4 separate regions of the Homo sapiens genome follow, and regions 1, 2 and 3 are each linked to region 4. Evidence: promoter capture Hi-C in 16 types of primary human blood cells and fetal thymus (Javierre and others, 2016). All regions are on one chromosome and are shown on one strand. The core of a region is centred on a gene start or on the middle of the fragment in contact, and the rest is flanking DNA. Distances in the headings are between cores, read along the strand shown. Region 1 overlaps UFD1 (ubiquitin recognition factor in ER associated degradation 1). Region 2 holds the start of HIRA (histone cell cycle regulator). Region 3 overlaps HIRA (histone cell cycle regulator). Region 4 holds the start of ESS2 (ess-2 spliceosome associated protein).

Region 1 (4,586 bases), core at 1,366-3,865, 310 kb before region 4:
AACCCCATCTCTACAACAATACAAAAATTAGCCAGGTGTAGTGGCACATGCCTATAGTCCCAGCTACTAGGGAGGCTGAGGCAGGAGAAGTGCTTGAACCCTGGAGGCGGAGGTTGCAGTGAGCCAAGATCGCACCACTGCACTCCAGCCTGGGCGATAGAGCGAGATTCTGTCTAAAAATAAATAAATAAAATAAATAGTAAAGTTCCAGAAGTGAACTTTCCAGGTTAAAGGTTGTTAGTGTCTTTTGCAGTTAGCTGTATAACTACCTTGTCTAATTTGAACCATATCTGGGGAACAGCATCTCTTCAGCGATGGGCACAGGGCAGCCTGTCCCTTATGGCAGTGTTGTCACAGCAAGAAGTGCAGCTGTAGGTTGTGTCATGGGCATGAATGCTGTGTCATTCGCAGGAGCCAGTAGAGCCACAGTAACATGGACAGCGACAGCTCCAGTGCTGCCAGGAAACCATCCAACTGATTTCTGTGTTTGCCCCACAGATCTACGAACTGCGTGTGATGGAGACCAAACCCGACAAGGCAGTGTCCATCATTGAGTGTGACATGAACGTGAGTGGCTCTGTCCAGTTACAGTGAGCCTGGGCCCTGGGAGGATGGGCAGTTGGTGACCACTGCAGGCCAGGGTGTCAGGAGGGCATCAAACAGCCCCTGGGACTCTGGGTAAAGAGGAGGAAGATGCTGTCAGAACATCATGAGGAGACTGTGACCTTGTGATCTATCTCAGGGCCAGTTGGGGCAACAGAGTTTGCTGCCAGTGCTGCCATGGTTAGCTCTGACCCGTTGAGGAGTGAATATTCTTTTTTTTTTTGAGACTTAGTTTCACTCCTGTTGCCCAGGCTGGAGTGCAGTGGTGCGATCTTGGCTCACTACAACCTCCACCTCCCAGGTTCAAGCGATTCTCCTGCCTCAGCCTCCCGAGTAGCTGGGATTACAGGCATGTGCCACCAGGCCCGGCTAGTTTTGTATTTTGGTAGAGACAGGGTTTTACCATGTTGGCCAAGCTGGTCTCAAACTCCTGACCTCAGGTAATCCACCCGCCTCGGCCTCCCAAAGTGCTGAGATTACAGGTGTGGGCCACCGCGCCTGGCCGAGGAGTGAATATGCTTAAGAGCTAAGGAAGCGTACTGAACCTTCTGAGTAGGAATGAAGTGCTGATGCACACAGCATCCTGGTTGTATTACTAGGGAATACTGCTGAGCAAAAAAAGCCAATCCCAAAAAGTTACTTCGTTATATAACATCCTCAAAGTGACAGAACTTTCGAAATGGAAGACAGACCAGTGGTTGCCAGGGCTTAGGACTGGTGGAGGGGGCTGGGAGACAGCTGGGTATGGTTATAAAAAGACAACATGGGCAGTCCTAGTGGTGGTGAAACTGTTCTACATCTCAACTGTGGTGGATACATGCCCCACACAGTGATTACATTGTGTAGAACTAAAGATACCCATGAACAAAAACATGTAAAACTGGGGAAATCTGAATAAGAGCAGTGGGTTGTGCCAGTGTTGATATCCTGGCAGCAATACTTTACTGTAATTTTGTAAGATGCTACCGTTGGGAAAACTGGGCAAGTGTACAAGGCATCTTTTGTATTATTTCTTAAAACTGCATGTGAATCTACAGTTGTCTCAATTAAAAACAAAAAAGGAAGCCAAGGGTGGTCATGTCTCAATATTTTACTTTTAAAATCCTGGAAACACAGGTGGACTTTGATGCTCCCCTGGGCTACAAAGAACCCGAAAGACAAGTCCAGCATGAGGAGTCGACAGTAAGTGTTATCCTCAGTGTCCTTTGCTGTCCTGCTGCATGCTGCTTTTGAGTTCCTGGCAGTGGCTCGTGGGTGGCCTCTGCTAGTGTTGGTGTAGTCATATCCTCTGCGTCCCTTCCAGCCATGCTTCCGGGGGACATCCTAGCCGGGGGTGGGGGTGAGAGGGAAGCTGGGTGTCCCCGCTGAGGAGCTCACCTGTTTTTCTTTTTCCCTGTCAGGAAGGTGAAGCCGACCACAGTGGCTATGCTGGAGAGCTGGGCTTCCGCGTGAGTACCAGACCACTTGACTTATATTGCTGTGCCCTCTGCTCCTTGAAATTAGAGCACTCACTCAAGGTGTTCTCCATGATGCTCGATGGACATCAGCAGGGGTTAGGCCTCTGGGTACCTGTGCATATGCAAATCTGCCACTCGCTCAGTTACCAAACCCTTTTGTATCCACTCTCTCCTGGAATCTTCCCAACAGCCCCATAAGGCAGCCCAGATTTTTAAGAATTTCTAACCTACCGAAGAGTTTAAATAGTACAGTAGACATATACTGTTCCCTTAGGTTCACCAAAAGTTACCACATTTGCTTTCTCTCTCTTGTAAATCATGTTTCCTTTTTTCTTTGCCTGTACCATGTAGGTTGCAAACATGACCCTTAGCATAACTACTGGCAAGGCTCCATGGGAAACAGGTGGAGGTGGTTCATGTGTGGGCACTGAGGTGGCAGGAGGTGCCAGGAAGCAGCAGAGAGGGCAGAATGATGGGAAGCTGAGCTATGGGGCAGTCACAACAGTAGCCTTAGCCCACCCATAGAGCTTGAACTGGGTGGCCCTGCAGAGGCAGGGATCAGGTCTTTTAACCCAACACTGACTGCTGGCTGCCCTTGGCCAAGTGGCTGTCTTCAGCTCATGGCCACCCCCTGAGGAACTGGGCAGAGTTCTTAGCTGCCAGCACCCCAGCAGTTGAGGAGTCAGGGCTTCAGTCCTGAAGGGGTCTGCACAGCACCCCCAGCTCACATCCCTGCAGTGATCTCCAAGCAAAGGACATATCGTCCTCACACTTGGGCTTATTATATGACTCACCTACTTCCTGTCTAGGCTTTCTCTGGATCTGGCAATAGACTGGATGGAAAGAAGAAAGGGGTAGAGCCCAGCCCCTCCCCAATCAAGCCTGGAGATATTAAAAGGTAGGTCTGTCCTGGCTCTCCTCCAGGACAGGAGGAGGATCTGTGCCAGCCCGCTGGGGTCGGGCAGCCTCACCCCAGTTCTGGAGACAAAGCCTGGGTCAGTAGTCTCCCAAGGGACTAAAACCCTTAGCTGCTCTCCTTGGTGGGGTGGAGCACAACATGCCCCTCCTTCCACAGTGCCACCCCCAGTACCACTGTGGTCCAGCCTCTCTCCATACCTCTCCATACCCCCAATTCAGCCTCTTCTTGCCCCCACTGGCTTTCCTAAGATGCGAGTCTGATTAGATCTGTCTCTTACTCAAAACCTTTCTGGTCCCTATTTGGTGATCTGCCTATTTTCCTGTTTTGTGACTTGGAATTATTAATCAGGTCACATTATCTCAGTTCCCCTGAAAGTTCCCTGAGGAGCTACCTCAGATGTGCTTCTGTTGCTGGGTCCGGGGACCCACAGCAGACCCTTCCTCTGGTGGCCATGATGGCAGGGGCAGGGCTGAGGTGTGTCAGTTGTCTGTTGTGTGTGTGAAATCAGAATACTGGAGTGAGAGTCTAGCCACCTCAGGGGGTTCTGTGAAGCTCAGGACAGTGACAGTGAGGGCTTCCCAATCCTTCAGATGACCCCTCTCCATAGACAGGTACAGAGCCTAAAGCCCCTGGCCCTATACCCAATATTGATACCAAACCAAGAAGTCAGTTACTTTCTGCTTCCCTCCTGGGAGGATGCCAGGAAGCACCAAAGGGCCCAGGTGGGGTGCAGCAGCATCTTTTCTGCGTTCCTCTTGACTGTCAAAAATGAATTTTAGTCCTTTTTTCCTGGAAATAACATTTCTCTGTCTCTGTCTCTTCTTACAGAGGAATTCCCAATTATGAATTTAAACTTGGTAAGATAACTTTCATCAGAAATTCACGTCCCCTTGTCAAAAAGGTTGAAGAGGTGAGTGTATTTCCTTGTATTTCCTTGGTTGGTAATGAGGAGATTTATTTGCTAGTGATGACTGAAGTTCTTGGCATTCTGAGTAGGGGTGTGCATTAGTCTGTTTCCAAGCTGCTGGTAAAGATGTACCCGAGACTGGGCAATTTACAAAAGAAAGAGGTTTAATGGACTTACAGTTCACATGGCTGGGGAGGCCTCACAATCATGGCAGGGGGCAAGTCACATCTTACATGGATGGTAGCAGGCAGAGAAAAAGCTGGTGCAGGGAAACACCTACTTATAAAACCATCAGATCTCATGAGACTTATTCACTATCATGATAACAGCACGGAAAAGACCCGCCCTCATGACTCAGTTACCTCCCACCGACTCAGTTACCTCCCACCTGGTCCCTCCCACAACACGTGGTAATTCAAGATGAGATTTGGGTGGGGACGCAGCCAAACCACATGAGGGTGTCTGTCATGTTTTCCCTTTCCTAGGGTCCCTCTGCTCCCTGGTGTCCTGTTTTTTTCTGTAGAGCTGGTGTAGGGTGTATGAAACAGAAGACTTGCAGCATGGGGGTCAGGAGCTCTGTCTTGCTCTAGAGCCGACTCCAGGCTCTGTTATCACAGAACTGTGTGCCCTGGGTGGGCTTCGTCTTCCAACAGAGACCTTGAACTTCAAATATAGGCAGCACCTTCTAGCTGAGCAGGGT
Region 2 (5,041 bases), core at 1,362-3,861, 290 kb before region 4:
AGCTGAGGCAGGAGAATCACTTGAGCCTGGGAGGCGGAGGTTGCAGTAGGACAAGATCGCGCCACTGCACTCCAGCTTGGGTAACAGAGCGAGACTCTGTCTCAAAAAAAAAAAAAAAAAAAAAAAAGTACAAAAGCAACAAGAGGCATCAGGGTATAAAATCGGGAAGTGTTCCTCTTTATTGCTGGGATTCAGGTGTGCCTTGGGATTACACTCAAAAGTGAAAATACCAAACTGTTAGATTAGAAGCTTATTACTATTAAAATTGATTTGTGGACTGGGTGCGGTGGCTCAGGCCTGTAATCCCAGCACTTTGGGTGCTGAGGTGGGTGGATCACCTGAGATCAGGAGTTCGAGACCAGCCTGACCAACATCCAACATGGTGAAACCCCGTCTCTACTAAAAACACAAAAATTAGCCGGGCGTGGTAGTGGGCGCCTGTAATCCCAGCTACTTGGGAGGCTGAGGCAGGAGAATTAGTTTAACCCAGGAGGCGAAGGTTGCAGTGATCCGAGGTCACACCACTGCACTCCAGCCTGGGTGACACAGTGAGACTCCATCTCAAAAAAAAAAGAAAAATCAAATCCTTTACTATCAAGATTGACTGAATCAAGTATCTACAAAGAGTCGAGAGTGCCAGATGGAAATACCTTTAATACTTGCATCTTCCCCACACTCTCCAGGGCCTCCGAATGGGCAGGGAAGAGGAAGGGTCATGGAGAAACAGAAACTTAAGCTGTGTCCTTTAAAACACACAAGAATCCCTTCAAGGAGAATACTTACTTCTTGAGAAACTGCTCAAATTTTAAAAATTACAAACAACAATCTATGGTTTGGAAAATGTTGGAAAAACAGAAAAGCATCGGCCTAAATTTAACTGAGAAACTTTGTAGGCTGTTAATTTTGCAAACCACACATCCAGCATTCTTGCTTTGTTCTCTACACATAGACTGACACCTTTACCCCCAGAGGTCAGGCCCTCGATTGAGTTTTACCTCATGGGAATGAGTTCCCAGAAAGACAACAATGACGCTCGCTGGTGAGTCTCTCTAAGCTGCGTCTGCCAAGTTCCCAGAAGCCTGAAAGATACAAGAGTATGTATAAATATCTGCTTCTCCAGGCTAGGCGCGGTTGCTCACGTCTGTAATCCCAGCACTTTGGGAGGCCGAGGCGGGTGGATCGCGAGGTCAGGAGTTCAAGACCAGCCTGGCCAACATGGTGAAACCCCGTCTCTACTAAAAATACAAAAATTAGCCGGGCGTGGTGTTGGGCGCCTGTAATCCGAGCTACTCGGGAGGCCGGGGCAGAACTGCTTGAACCCGGGAGGCAGAGGTTGCAGTGAGCCGAAATCGCGCCACTGCACTCCAGCCTGGGCGACAGAGCGAGACTCTGTCTCAAATAAATAAATAAATATCTGATTCTCTCCCACTTCACAGGAAAATAAAAAATTGCAATGCTCCCAAACCCGGGGCACTTCTAACTACTTGATATGACAGCAAGGTCAACGTGGAAGGTTTTTCAAAATCTTTCGTTCAGACCACAGAGGACTTAAGCAGGACCGCTGCTCGCCAGGGTGCTCAGATTTTCATGCATAAGAGTCACGACCAGATGGCTCATCCCTGAGATATTCGTGGACTGGGAGGCGAGCAGGGAGCACAGGCGAGTCCTGGCGGACAGTCGCGAAGACCCCGCACGCGCCCTGGGCACTCCGCTATCCGGCCAGCGTCCGCACTCACCCGCTAGTCGGGCGCAGGGCTAGCGAGATACTTCGCAGCACGGAGGCCGTCATGGCTACCCTCGCCGCTTCCGGGCGTGCGCCCCTCCACAGTCCGGCCCGCGGTGCCCCCTGCTGAGGTCCGGCAGACCAGGCGCCCAGCGCTCAGGCGTTCCGGCTGCGTGGGCTGGGACGCGCCTGTCCCCGCCCCCGACGCAGCCCCGCCTAGGGTGTCAGCTGCGCACACACGAGGGCCTTGCGTTTCACGCGGCTCGGGGTCCTCCCTTCCGTCCCCGCCCTGTGCTGGGAGCGCGCCTCTGCAGCGGGCACAGTCTAGCCAGTCAGGCCCTAGCCGGTTGGTCGGTCTGCGCCCTCGCGCGGGCCTCGGCTCCGCAGTGCAGCCGGAGCGGCCGAGGGGGCGTCCCTCTGCTCCTCCGAGTCCAAATGTTCATGTCTAGGCAAACGGCCCCGATCTTCTAATAAACGCGTCCGCCCCAGCCTCCCCCACCAGGGTTGGCTCGTCCCCCGCATTCGTTCGAGTCCGAAGCCCGGATCGCATTCCGGCGCCGGCGCGGAGCCCGGCGCTCGCAAGATGCCCAATAGCGCGTGTTGATGAATGACGGAAGCTAGTTAATAAGTCGGACTCAGACTGGCGAGGCAGAGCTGGTGACGGGCGGTCCACGCCACCTGGGCCCCGCCTGCCTCTGCGGGCGGCCCGGGTTGCAACTGCAGGCCCCGCTCGCTGTCCGCCGTCCAGGCGAACCGCCCTTTCTGGGGCGCCCGCGCCCGGGCCCGACCCGAAGCCCCTGCCAGCGGAGGAGCCGGGGCGGCCCAGTCCGCGTGGGGAGCGGTTTCCCGCCGGGGCGATTTGGCAGGTGCGCGCCGTGACTTCCGGCGTTGCCCGGGAGCCGCCTGAGGAGGAGCGGCGCAGGGGATGCGGCTGTGGTGGCGGCGGCGGCGGCCGAGCGCGGGTGGCGGCTGTGGCGGCGGAGGGGGGCGCGGGCCGGCGATGGCGCGGCGGCCCTGAGGGCGCGGGGCGGGCGGCGGCCGGAGGGCGGGTGGCGCGGGAGGAAGCGGCGGCGGTGGCTCCATGGCCCGGGCGCGCTGAGGGACCCGGCGCTCGCCTCAGCCCGGCGGCGGCGGCGGCCGAACAATGAAGCTCCTGAAGCCGACCTGGGTCAACCACAATGGTGAGTGCGCGCAGGGGTCGCGGGAGGCCGAGCCCGGAGTCGGGTCGGGGTCTGGAGTCGAGTCGGGGCGCGCGCAAGTCCTGCCTGTCTCGCCCCTGACGCCCGGTACCCGGTGCCCAAGCCAAGAAGCCGGCGGGAGCGGACTTTGTCCTCAGCGCGGAGAGGCTGGTGAGCCCCAGCACGTGCTCCGGGTTGACCGCAGCGAGGGCCATCTTCGCCCCTGGCTCTTGCTCTGAGTCTTCCGCTGCCCACCTGTGGTCCTTGGAGGGGCCGCGGCCTGGCTCCCAGGAGCGGGCCTTGGTGCCAGCCAGTGCCTTCCACTGGTCTGCATCGCCCGAGAAGTGCTCAGACGGTCCTGAAGGTGAAACCGGGATGAAATCCCCCTTGTGGCCTTTCAGTGGCAGGATGAAGATCCGAAATCTGCAAGAGGGACTGTTACTGCCCCTCTGGATCTGGGGACAGTGCCCCCAGTTGGGGAATTGTGGTCCCTAAATAGGAGGGTTTGGGGGCCCCGGGCCCCCGCGAAGGATCCACGATTAATGCTGAGCTGGGACATCAGGGTGAACTAGGGTTGGGCAGATAGGGCACAGGTGTGTTCTAGCAGAGGGGCTTCTTAGCTCTGTGGCAGTGGCTCCAAAGCACACCCTTGGGGAACGGACTCATCCACCCCATATCTTGACTCTGATACAGAGAGGCTAGTGGTAATCAGTTTCGTCATAGTTCTGCCTTGTTGGCAGAACTGCTGCAGGAGTTGGTGTTTGCTCCCCGGGTAGATGAAAAAAGCGCGCCTCCCCCTCCCCCACCCCACTCTGCTGACAGCACTGTAGCACAGAAATCAACCCAGGGAGACTCCTCCAGCCCAGGGCCTGATTCTGGCCTGTCTGACTGTTGACAGGCAAAGGGTCACCCTGATGCTGTCTTGTTCCTCATTTCTACTTTGCAGTGCGACTACAGGGTGCTACCGTTTTCTTTAGGAGCGAGAATAGATATTTTAACATGTGGCTTTTTCGTTTTGAATTTGGTCCCAGGATGCTCTCTACTACCACAACTAAACTGAACTGATCATGTGTGTGTTCTCCTCCTGCCACCTCTCTCTCCTTCCATCTTGTGTGACATCTTTCCCATTTTTCAGGGACTAGGTTCACGTGTTTCTTTTGAAACTGTTCATCCTGAGTTACCCCGGTAGATGTGCTGTATCACTGTCTGTGTGTTTTGCCTGGCATGGAAGGTGTGAGGGTACTTTCCATATGCCCCCAGGGTAGGGACTGCCTCAGTCCCTTCTGTATGCCCTACTGCATTGAACAACCTCTTCCACATGATGGGTATGTGATAAATATTGGCTAAAACAGGTAAGAAAGCTGAGGTTTTCATAATTTATCAAGATGAAGTTAGGTTTACTGTGCATGAAAGCCGAAGCCTTGAGTTTTAGTTTCATTTCTCCTGTTGATCTCCAAGAGCATTTCCTGATGTGTACTGTGCAGATCTTTCCCTGGAGAACTGGACAAATATTGTAATTATGAATTATGATGCTTGTGATTAGGAAAGGAAAAATGTTATTATGAACTAGTTTACTGTGTGAAGGTCTGATAGAATTTTTATTTTAAAATGCTTTACCTAAATCAGTTTTTGTGAATAGCCTACCCTTCTCCAGCCTCTCTTCTACTGTCATATAACTTGTTCCTTTTTGATAAGCTCCTTTGTAGGCCAAAAGTTTTATGCTATGTAAACATAAGTAAGTCAAGATGCTTAAGTGACGAACTAGGTACAAATGAATAAGAGACTACACTCAGATCAGCAGCCAAGTGCATCAGCCTGGCAGAGCAAGCACAACAGTGGCCCTTATTGCTGAGGGCCTCTCTACAGCCCTAGAATGGAGCATGATAATATCTACTCTAACCACTTCATAGTATGCTTGTGATACTCAGTTGGGAGCGTAGATATAAAAATGCTCCCCAAACTGTTAAGTGCTTTAGAAATCTGAGATAATAAGTAATAATAAAAAGAGGCTGGGCACGGTGGCACATGCCTGTAATCCCAGCACTTTGGGAGGCTGAGGCAGGTGGATCACGAGGTCAAGAGATCGAGACCATCCTGGCCAACATGGTGAAACCCCGTCTCTACTAAAAATACAAAAATT
Region 3 (5,123 bases), core at 1,908-4,407, 270 kb before region 4:
CACTCTCTACCTGCAGTCTGCTCTGCAACATTACATCAGCCTATTTCTTGATTCCATGCCGTGCGTCCCCTCAGCCTGAAAACCCTCTCCTTCACCCGATCTTCTGGCTAACTCTTACTCAACCCTTGGGACCCAATTCAGTTATTATTTCTGCAGGAAGCCCGAGGCTGAGTCAGGTGGCTTTCTGCTTGTGAAGTGTCCATCAGTGGACATCTTACTAGGGGAGTTTGTATGATTATGTATCTTTACTTTCTCATTGCTTAGCCTAATGCCTGGCACATAGTAGAAATCTGCAAACAGAGACTGAGTGAGAAAACATGCAGTTGATGCTGTGAGTGGGCATGATCTAAAGCGCATGGGCTGTAATTGGTTACTTGTGCAGCTGAGCCCTCAGCACAGCCTGGCTCAGCCTGTACGTGCTCTTGGGTAGTCAGGGGAACTGTGACTTGCAGGTAAGGGTTTCTGGTGTGCTTCTTGAGGGGACTGATGTAATACAATGTCTCACAGACTTATGGAACTGAAAAGCACTCCAAGGGGAGGGGAATGTTCCGCCCTGATTGCCCGTCAAGACCAAAGCTGTCAGCTAGAACATTTTTTGTTAAAATGACAAATGCCCAGCTCAAGCTGGCTTAAGCAGAAAAGCAAATGAATTGGCATTTTGGTTTATCTCTTATATGACAAACCCCTAAATTTGCTGGCTTAAACCAATAACAGTTTTATTATTTGCTCATAATTCTGCAGCTTGTCAGGACTTAGCAGGTTCAGCTCATCTTGGCTCTATGGAATCTGCTGGGATGGCTCGAATAGCTTGGGGATAGAACACCTCACCAGGCCTGTGTCTGTGACCTTGATTCTCACTTGTCCGGGCTCTTTGATGCTCTACATGTGGCCAGCTTGGGCCTCTTCAAAACATGGTGGTCTCAGGGTACTTGGACTTCTCACATGACAACTAGGTTTCTCCAGAGAGCCAAAGTTGAACTGCTAGACTCTTAAGGCCTACACCTGGAACTGGAGCAACATTACTTCTGTCATTTCCCTTTGGTTAAAACGGGTCCCAGGTGTTTCAGATAAGGGATACTCAACCTATACTACATAGTGACCAGTAAGAAGGAAAGTGTATTTTATCTCAAGTTCATGCTTGATTTGACTACATGGCTGCGGCTCTCCACAGCTGGGTGCTGCCTGGGTCCCATGCTGGGCAGTGCCTTTTGGGCACCAGCATTTAATTTTCACACTTGCATGGGAGCCCTGGCAGGACTTCACAGTTCTCAGACAGCCACTGCCTGCCCACACACTCCTGATCCCAGTACTTGCTGAGTGATTCTAGGGCTGGTGACTCTGGTACTGTGTCCACATTGCCTCCTCTTGGGTGACAGAGACAGAACATGTTCAATTAAGAGACTCTTGGCAACAGCCCATCTATATCAGCAATTGTTGATGCTCAGATCATTGTCATGTATCTCCTTTGTCAATGAACAAATATTACTGCGCTACTGTACACTGGGTACTGTGCTAGAGGCTGAAGATGTGATGAACTCAACAGCAACTGACATGCCACTTGTAGCTCTTAAACCTTTGTCCTAGAAGCAGGGAGCTGGACAAATGCCCACCAGGCGTGAGTGCCTTCTATGGTCTGCTGGGTTTCAAGCTCCTACAGTGCTTTTGCCGGTCTGATCCACCCACCCAGCCAGCCAGCTAGCTTCATGGGATCCTAGTGCAAGCCTAGGCCCATACTGGGCTCTTTGGGGCTTCTAAGAACTAATAGCCACAGTCCTTTCTCCTGGAGGAATTGAACAGCTAATTTAACATAGAGTACAAACTGTGAAGGAGGTTCAGCCAGAGGAGATGCTGAGATGGCAGACGGTATGGGAACTTCACAGCACAAACAAAAGAGGGCTGTTTGGAAGCAGAAGTATGACAAGCGAAGCAATGCTCCTTGGTTGCAGCCAGCGCTGGTCCTGCTCAGCTGTCAGCCAGAAAAGACAAATAGCAGTCCTTCTGTCTAGGCTGCCAGTCAAGTGCAGATCCATGCAATAGGGAGATGTCTGGAGTTACAGCTGTGTGCCCTTTTCACTAAGTACCTGAGACTCAGAACTTCAATCATGAACAGCTCATAGCCATTACAAACACACATCCCTACAAGATGGCAGACAAATGCCCAGGCATCCTATGGGCTCAGCCATTCTCAGTGATGGAATGCTTTCTCCCACTGTTGGACTTTCAGTTGTCTGATGTTTGGAGAATCTTCTAGCAGTTTAGACTTTAACTGAATCTGTTGAGTTTGATACACTTCAATGAATAAAAGCCAATTTAGATACTGTATTTTTTTTTCTTTGTTTCCAGGCAAGCCGATTTTTTCAGTTGATATTCACCCTGACGGGACCAAGTTCGCAACTGGAGGACAAGGTATGTTTATGGAATAAAGAAAGGGAAAGCTTAACAGCCCTGCCACCTTGCTCTTCTCCTGCTGTCCATTTAGCTGTAGAGGGAATACTTGCTATTTTTCAGGATGGATGCAACGCTGTTTAAAATGTACAGTTATAATGTGTTATCTGAATGAATAAAATCAAAATCCTTTTATGGCTTTAGTGTGCTCTCTGTAAGTATTTTGGCAGCGGATGTATCATTCTAATTTCTGTTTATTGAGTTAATATTAAAATCAGTTTGTATCCCCAAACTTGTAGAGCATCGAGAGCGGTAGGTGGTCCAGTGGGCAAAGCCCAGCCCCAGAGACAAGGGCTCTGTCAGCATTTTTCTCATCTGAAAAAAGGGAATGAGGGTAATTTAAGCTTCTAAAGCAATCGTGTAGTTATTAGGCCCATTTTCTCGTCAAAGGAATTCAGTTAGGTTAAAGAGAAAGCACACTGTGGGCAAGTAAGAAAGCCCACACCATTTGAAACTGTTATTGGTAGTATTGCCCTTATGCTTCAGCCAGCATCTTTTGCAATGTTGCATGGTTCTATTTGGAAAGACAGAGCTGTTCTTCATGCCACAATACCAAGATGTATATATAGTGACACAATGTAGCATTCCACAGAGCCCAGCCCTCTGTCATCTTTACCCCAGAGCGGGGCCTCCCTCCAACCAGGCCTCCCCAGGCAGCACTTAGAGAGTGCCTTTGTGAGCTCTAGGTCCTCAGGCCAGGTGCTGCAGGGTGGGTTTCCAGCAGATGCTTCCACCCAGAATCAAGGAGCTGGAAGGGAGTGTAGGGAAGCTGTGGGCAGGGAAGCCTTTCTCTCCTTCCATGCTGTGGACTGCACCCGAGAGGAGGAGGTGCAGCACATGAGAGAGAACACATGGACTTAGCTGAAGGAATCAGAGGGTTCGCACCTGTACCCAGAAGACACACATTTTGCCACCTTGGTCCAGCAGAGATGTTTTGGAAATACTTTTACATATTGGCCAAGAGGCAGTTTCAAACATGCTTTATGGTAATTTTGGCATGTTCATTGGATTTGGCCCTATTATAATAGGAAAATTAAGTGAGGGGCTAAACTTCGTTAGATATCAGTGATGGAAAGCTTAGAAATCATTACTAAGGCTGGGCACGGTGGCTCACGCCTGTGATTTCAGCACTTTGGGAGGCCAAGGCAGGCGAATCATCTGAGGTCAGGAGTTCGAATCAGCCTGGCCAACATGGCGAAACCCCGTCTCTACTAAAAATACAAAAATTAGCTAGGTGTCATGGTGTTCGCCTGTAATCCCAGCTAGTCGGGAGGCTGAGATAGGAGAATCGCTGGAACCTGCGAGGCGGAGGTTGCAGTGAGCCGAGATCGTGCCACTGCACTCCAGCCTGGGAGACAGAGTGAGACTCCATCTCAAAAAAAAAAAAAGAAAAGAAATCATTACTAAAAGGCATGGGTATATTTTTTAGCCGAGCAATACATCAACTCATGACCACGGGAGCCCTAAATCCCCTCTTTTGGTGGTCTCTCGTCTGTAGGTAACTGCAAAGGGTGGATAACAAGATAATGAGCCATTTTTCCTGTGTTCAGGGTACATTTGGGTCTCAAAACAGTCGGCTCTGGAACAGCCTAAATTCCAGGCAGCACCTGGAAGGGGAGGGAAACCCCACTAGGGTGTGCTTTTCTGTTTGCTTTTTAGGGTGTACACAGAACAGAAAAGGTCTTATGACATTGACTTTCCCTTCTCCTCATTTCACAGATGAGGAGTCAAGGAGTCGGAGTCTAGGTGCTGGGCAGGGATGAAGACCTTTTAGGGACCCCTGGTGGATCCGTGTTAGAGGCCAGATCAGAGCTCAGTTCCCTCCTGATTGCTAGTCTAAAGTTCTTTTTGTAAAGTCAGGTTGACTTCTGCTGACTGCTAAGTCCGCTCCGTTTCGTCCCCATGAGTACTTATCATCTTTTCTGTAACTTAAATTAGTAATTTAAATTCAGTCTCCTTAGATCTAGTTAATTATTGTTTATGGAAGCTAAGTGAGGACTTCTCCTAATTTAATTTGACATTAAATATTAATATCAAATTTCTACTCCTTGCACATTCAGCCATTTCTGCTCCTTTGTTCCAGGGCAGGATTCTGGGAAGGTTGTGATCTGGAATATGTCTCCAGTCCTCCAGGAGGATGACGAGAAGGATGAAAATATTCCCAAGATGCTTTGCCAGATGGACAATCACTTAGGTATTACAGAGTGGCCCTTTGCAGGCTTTGCGTGTTGGCAGAGTGCCCAAGGTTAGCACATGTGTTTGTAATTAGAAAGATAAGGCCCCGTGCGGCGGTAACTCCCCTCGGCCTGCTGTCTGAAGGCACAGATGTTGGCTGCACACCTGGGTGAGTTATTCAGCAGAAGACTCGGCCCGCCCACAGAACCATCTTTGGACAGTCTGCAGGTACCTCTGGTGATTTCCTGCTCATGAGTCGTTACTGCCTGATTCCATGGGGCTTTGGGGCCAGCGACCTGGACACAGTAGGGTTCTGGGGAAGGGTGCGCAAGAGACAATTTGCCAAAACATCTCAGGTTGTTACTGTGTCACTCTGAGGCTCTCTGCCAGGACCCTTTTGGCCATCAGACAGTGTGATGGTTTCCTTTCCTGCTGTAGTGCCTTAGTTTCCCACCCCTGAGATGCTTAATGAACAGTCACTGGCCTTTGGACATCAGCTCCTT
Region 4 (4,520 bases), core at 2,007-4,506:
GCATCTCACATCCCCACCCCCAGCTGGCTTGAGCACCTCGTTCTGTCTCCTTACAGGCCCTGCAGGGAATGGGGCCATTCTACCTGCAAGAGATGAAGTCCATCTCTAAAAGCAGGACTGCAGAAGCCAGGGCTGCAGCTCCCCAGACACCCCAAGGCTGGCCAGCTTGGATAACACCAAGCAAGCATGGTGTCCCCAGTCAGAACTGCCCTGACACTGCTGGGTGTCCCTAGCATCCCCGCCTCCACCCCTAGCATGCACACAAAGCCCTTCTCCCTGAACCCTGGTCTTGCCCTTGGGGACTGAACAGACTACCTGTGGACATGCCCGTGTCCCAGTCAGCTCCCTTGCAGCTGGGGACACTCGCATCTCACAGGCTCCAGGCCCCTTGAGTTCCTTGGTTGAATGGCCATCTGTCATTGTTTTGGGAGCCCCGATCAGAGCTTGTGGAGCGCCACCTTCCAGGGCTCAGTGGCTGTGTTGCTCTCCTGAATTTGCTTCTTGAGCTCTAGCTGCTCCTTGGCAGGCTGACCCCCCACAGCAGGCTATTAACATAGGCATCCTTCACGCTCACACCCAGGCGCTCGCTTCTCATCTTCACCCTCTTCCCGGTTTATCTTTTACCCTCAGACTCCAATTCCCATCTTTCTGCCACATTTACATCTCAAGCCAGGCACTTCCCCTGAGCCAGGTATTTATCTCCAGCTGTCCCCTTGAAGCCCACAGACTCCTTAAGGTCACCTTGTCCACAGTGAGCTCTTCTGTGCAAACCAGGCACATGAGCCAGAGAGCTAGCCGCCCACCCGAAACTGGTCCCTGGACCCCTCCCTCTCCTGATCATCCACTATACCCAGGCTGACAGGAAGTCAGTTTTACTGTTTATCAATAAATCAATAAATCCCAGAATCTCTCCAGCTCTAACTGCACCAGTCTGATGTAAGCCACCGTCACCTCTCACCTTGACCACTGCAACTGTCTCTAATCTTGTCCACCTGCACCACACTGGCTCTGCTTTTTTGTTTGTCGGTTGGTTTGAGACAAGGTCTCGCTCCATCACCCAAGCTGGAGTGTAGTGGTGCAATCATGGCTCACTATAGCCTCCAGCTCCTGGGCTCAAGCGATCCTCCCCCATCAGCCTTCTGAGTAGCTAGGACCACAGGTGGGCACCACCACACCCGACTAACTTGAAAAGTTTTTTGTAGAGATGAGGTCTTGCCATGTTGGCCAGGCTGGTCTCAAACTTCTGACCTCAAACTATCCGCCGGCCTAGGCCTTCCAAAGTGCTGGGATTATAGGCATGAGCCACTGTGCCTGGCCTGCCCCTTCAATTCAGAATGAAGACAAACCACCTCACCATACCCTACAAGGCCCTGTGCAGCCTGGCCCTGCCTCTCTGGCATCATCTCACACCTCACTGCACTCTGCATTTCCAAAGGACTTCTTTAGAACTTGCCTTGCTCCCTCCCACCACTAGGCCTTTGCACATGCTCTTTCCACCTGACTGTTGCCGGTTTGTTCGTCTTTTGAATCTGCAATCACTTTCTGCCTGGGGAAGCTTCTCTGACCTCCCGAACTAGGTCAAGATTCCCCAAGTACAAACTCTTTTCTTGCACGGACACAGCTGCAATTTTACACCTGTTTGTGTGATGATCTAACAAGTGTCTCTGTCTTCCCCATTGCACTGTCACTTCTACAAGGGCAGCAGCAGCACGCTGCACTTCAGTGAATGAAGGTATCCCTGTATGTTGCAAAAGCAAAATTGTATTAAATTGTTCCAGGGCGGAATTTATTTGTCCAACACAATTCACATCTTTCGTTTGGGAAGAAATTCCTTAAAAATGCCGAGGCAATTTTCTGGTTCACTTGAATATTAATTTTTTTTTTTCTTGACAGAGTTTCACTCTGTCACCCAGGCTGTAGTGCAGTGGCACAATCTCTGCTCACTGCAGTTTCCACCTCCTGGGTTTGAGTGATTTTCCTGCCTCAGCCTCCCAAGTAGCTGGGACTACAGGCACCTACCACCACTTTGTATTTTTTTTTTTTTTTAGTAGAGTTGGGGTTTCACCATGTTGGCCAGGCTGGTCTCAATCTCCTGACTTCAAGTGATCCACCTGCCTGGGTCTCCCAAAGTGCTGAGGTTACAGGCGTGAGCCACCGTGCCTGGTCTTGAATGAGAATGATCCCTCTTCTGGGAAGCCCACTCTGGCATTTGGGGGCCCAATAATCTTTTTTTTTTTTTTGACAGAGTTTTGCTCTTGTTACCCAGGCTGGAGTGCAATGGTGCAATCTCAGCTCACTGCAACCTCCGCCTCCTGGGTTCAAGCAATTCTCCAGCCTCAGCCTTCCGAGTAGCTGGGATTACAGGCGTCCACCACCATGCCCAGCTAATTTTTTTGTGTGTTTTTAGTAGAGATGGGGTTTCATCTTGTTGGCCAGGCTGGTCTAGAACTCCTGACCTCAGGTGATCCGCCTGTCTTGGCCTCTCAAAGTTCTGGGATTACAGAATAATCTTTAGACATTTCTTAATCGAACCACTGTCTTGTTCTTTCACCTTTTGTTAGATAACTATAAAAAAAAAAAAAAGATTGTTTTGGCCGGGTGCGGTGGCTCACGCCTGTAATCCAGAGACCAGCCTGACCAACATAGAGAAACCCTGTCTCTACTAAAAATGCAAAATTAGCCGGGCGTGGTGGCCCATGCCTGTAATCCCAGCTACTCGGGAGGCTGAGGCAGGAGAATCCCTTGAACCCGGGAACTCCGGTGAGCCGAGATCATGCCATTGCACTCCAGCCTGGGCAACAAGACCGAAACTCCGTCTCAAAAAAAAAATTGTTTTAAGGCCCTTTTCTTGCATAAAGCTTGAAACTCCTATATAAGTAAATTTCCTGGTTTGTATTTTTGTAGAATAATCTCGAAGCATACATAGTTCTTATTTGTGGGAAATTAGAATTCTAAGGCCTTTGGACGCTGCAAAGCCAGAATTTCTCGCGTGAAGAACACGCCCTATAGCATCCTCCCCGCCACCTCCACAGCACCCCCTCGTGTTCACAGCATTGACAAGCATGAATAGCGCGGGGCAGGACAAGGACTACATTTCCAATAAAGTCTAGCATTTATAGTGACGTCAGAACGGAGCGCGGGCTGGCTTTCTAGAGCCACAGCTTTTCCATTGGCCAACTATTGGAGGCGCCTGCGCAAATGGTGCAGTCCCGCCCCCTCCACCCTGTGACGCGCCTGCTGGGCCCGAGCTTTTTCCTGGGATAGCGATGGAGACGCCGGGCGCATCAGCGTCGTCCTTGTTGCTTCCCGCCGCGTCCAGGCCCCCGAGGAAGCGCGAGGCGGGAGAGGCTGGGGCTGCGACGAGCAAGCAGCGGGTCCTGGACGAGGAAGAGTATATCGAGGTACGACCTCGGTGCGGACGCCGGCGACTTCTGGGCCCATCCTCTGCTTCAAGCTCCTCTCAGGTTCCCTCTCTCGGGTGTTGACACTCCGTCTCCTCGTGGAAGTGGAGGAGCCGGGTGTGGACGGTCCCACGAGTCAAGTAAACAGGGCAGAGGAAGACGTCTGTGGTGGAAGAGGCTGTAGTAGTGTTGTCAGGGAAAAGAGAGAGCGGCTCTCTTTGTATGGGACGGGGGTCAGGGAAAGAAGATTTTCTGTTAAAGTGTGAGTAGGAGTTTGACAAACTGGAAGGATGGTGGCAAAGAGGGCTTTCTAAAGAGCGGTGGCAGCAAGTGTGAATGCTGGGGTTCCTGGAAAGAGACCGCAGTTGTGACAGCATCTCGAGTGAGTGGACCTGCGTCGCCCCACCACACGCACACAGAAGGAGGAGCTGAAACGGGGATTGGCGGAAGTCAGTTTGGTTTTAGACCTGTTTAATTCGGGACACCTTTTGGGATATGTAGATGGATGGCTTTAACGGACGGTTGGGTGCCCAGATATGCAGCTCGGGAGCAAGGTCTGGCTGGAGGTGCAGACTTGGGAATCTCAACTTGTGGTAGTGACTGGCTGAAGTTACTCAGGAAAAAGGTTTATTTTTATTTTATTTTTTGAGACGGAGTCTCGCTCGTCGTCCAGGCTGGAGTGCAGTGGCGCGATCTCGGCTTACTGTAACCAACCTCTGCCTCCTGGGTTCAAGCCATTCTCCTGCCTCAGCCTGCCGAGTAGCTGTGACTACAGGTGCCCGCCACCACGCCCGGCTAATTTTTGTATTTTTAGTAGTGGTGGGGTTTCACCATGTTGGCCAGGCTGGTCTCGAACTCCTGACCTCAGGTGATCCGCCCGCCTTGGCCTCTCAAAGTGCTGGGATTACAGGCGTGAGCTACCATGCCCCGCCAGGAGAAAGGTTTAGATTGGAAATAGAAAGTCATGTGTGGAATGAAAGTGACAACACCCACATTGGTCTGGCTTGTGGGGAGCCAGCAATGGAGAATGAGAATGACCAGTTAGCAAGGGCGAGAGAGAAGGGTTTCACGGACTTCAGAAGAGTGTTTAGTAATGTTAGAGGTTGCAGCATGGCTACC

What was found. The method cuts DNA at HindIII sites, captures the fragments that hold promoters and counts their contacts. A CHiCAGO score of 5 or more calls a contact.
Region 1: a contact is called between a fragment that was not itself captured here and the fragment with the promoter of ESS2 in region 4, in 5 of 17 cell types (total B cells, megakaryocytes, activated CD4 T cells and 2 more). The highest score is 7.6, in total B cells.
Region 2: the fragment with the promoter of HIRA here is called in contact with the fragment with the promoter of ESS2 in region 4 in 10 of 17 cell types (total B cells, megakaryocytes, naive CD4 T cells and 7 more); the score reaches 9.4 in total B cells.
Region 3: a fragment that was not itself captured here is called in contact with the fragment with the promoter of ESS2 in region 4 in 1 of 17 cell types (total CD8 T cells); the score reaches 5.0 in total CD8 T cells.

The regions. Positions count from the first base shown.
Region 1 is chr22:19,454,052-19,458,637 of GRCh38, reverse strand. It overlaps UFD1 (ubiquitin recognition factor in ER associated degradation 1), which reads left to right. Exons shown (of 12, transcript NM_005659.7): 7 at 499-567; 8 at 1,720-1,785; 9 at 2,004-2,051; 10 at 2,870-2,958; 11 at 3,808-3,889. Among named protein-coding and RNA genes, the nearest start is that of C22orf39, 8.6 kb to the right of the region's middle. The HindIII fragment of the contact is 5,929 bases long and covers 1-4,586 here.
Region 2 is chr22:19,429,303-19,434,343 of GRCh38, reverse strand. It overlaps HIRA (histone cell cycle regulator), which reads left to right and starts at 2,611. Exons shown (of 25, transcript NM_003325.4): 1 at 2,611-2,904. The coding sequence starts at 2,868. MRPL40 (mitochondrial ribosomal protein L40) reads right to left here and starts at 1,799. Exons shown (of 4, transcript NM_003776.4): 1 at 1,737-1,799; 2 at 996-1,079. The coding sequence starts at 1,789. RefSeq lists silencers at 1,725-2,034, 2,325-2,724 and enhancers at 3,009-3,756, 3,705-3,774, 4,015-4,144. The HindIII fragment of the contact is 6,181 bases long and covers 252-5,041 here.
Region 3 is chr22:19,407,999-19,413,121 of GRCh38, reverse strand. HIRA (histone cell cycle regulator) reads left to right here. Exons shown (of 25, transcript NM_003325.4): 2 at 2,344-2,406; 3 at 4,529-4,639. Among named protein-coding and RNA genes, the nearest start is that of HIRA, 21 kb to the left of the region's middle. The HindIII fragment of the contact is 732 bases long and covers 2,792-3,523 here.
Region 4 is chr22:19,143,387-19,147,906 of GRCh38, reverse strand. ESS2 (ess-2 spliceosome associated protein) reads left to right here and starts at 3,256. Exons shown (of 10, transcript NM_022719.3): 1 at 3,256-3,401. The coding sequence starts at 3,267. It overlaps GSC2 (goosecoid homeobox 2), which reads left to right. Exons shown (of 3, transcript NM_005315.2): 3 at 1-914. RefSeq lists an enhancer at 3,681-4,187. The HindIII fragment of the contact is 3,418 bases long and covers 2,861-4,520 here.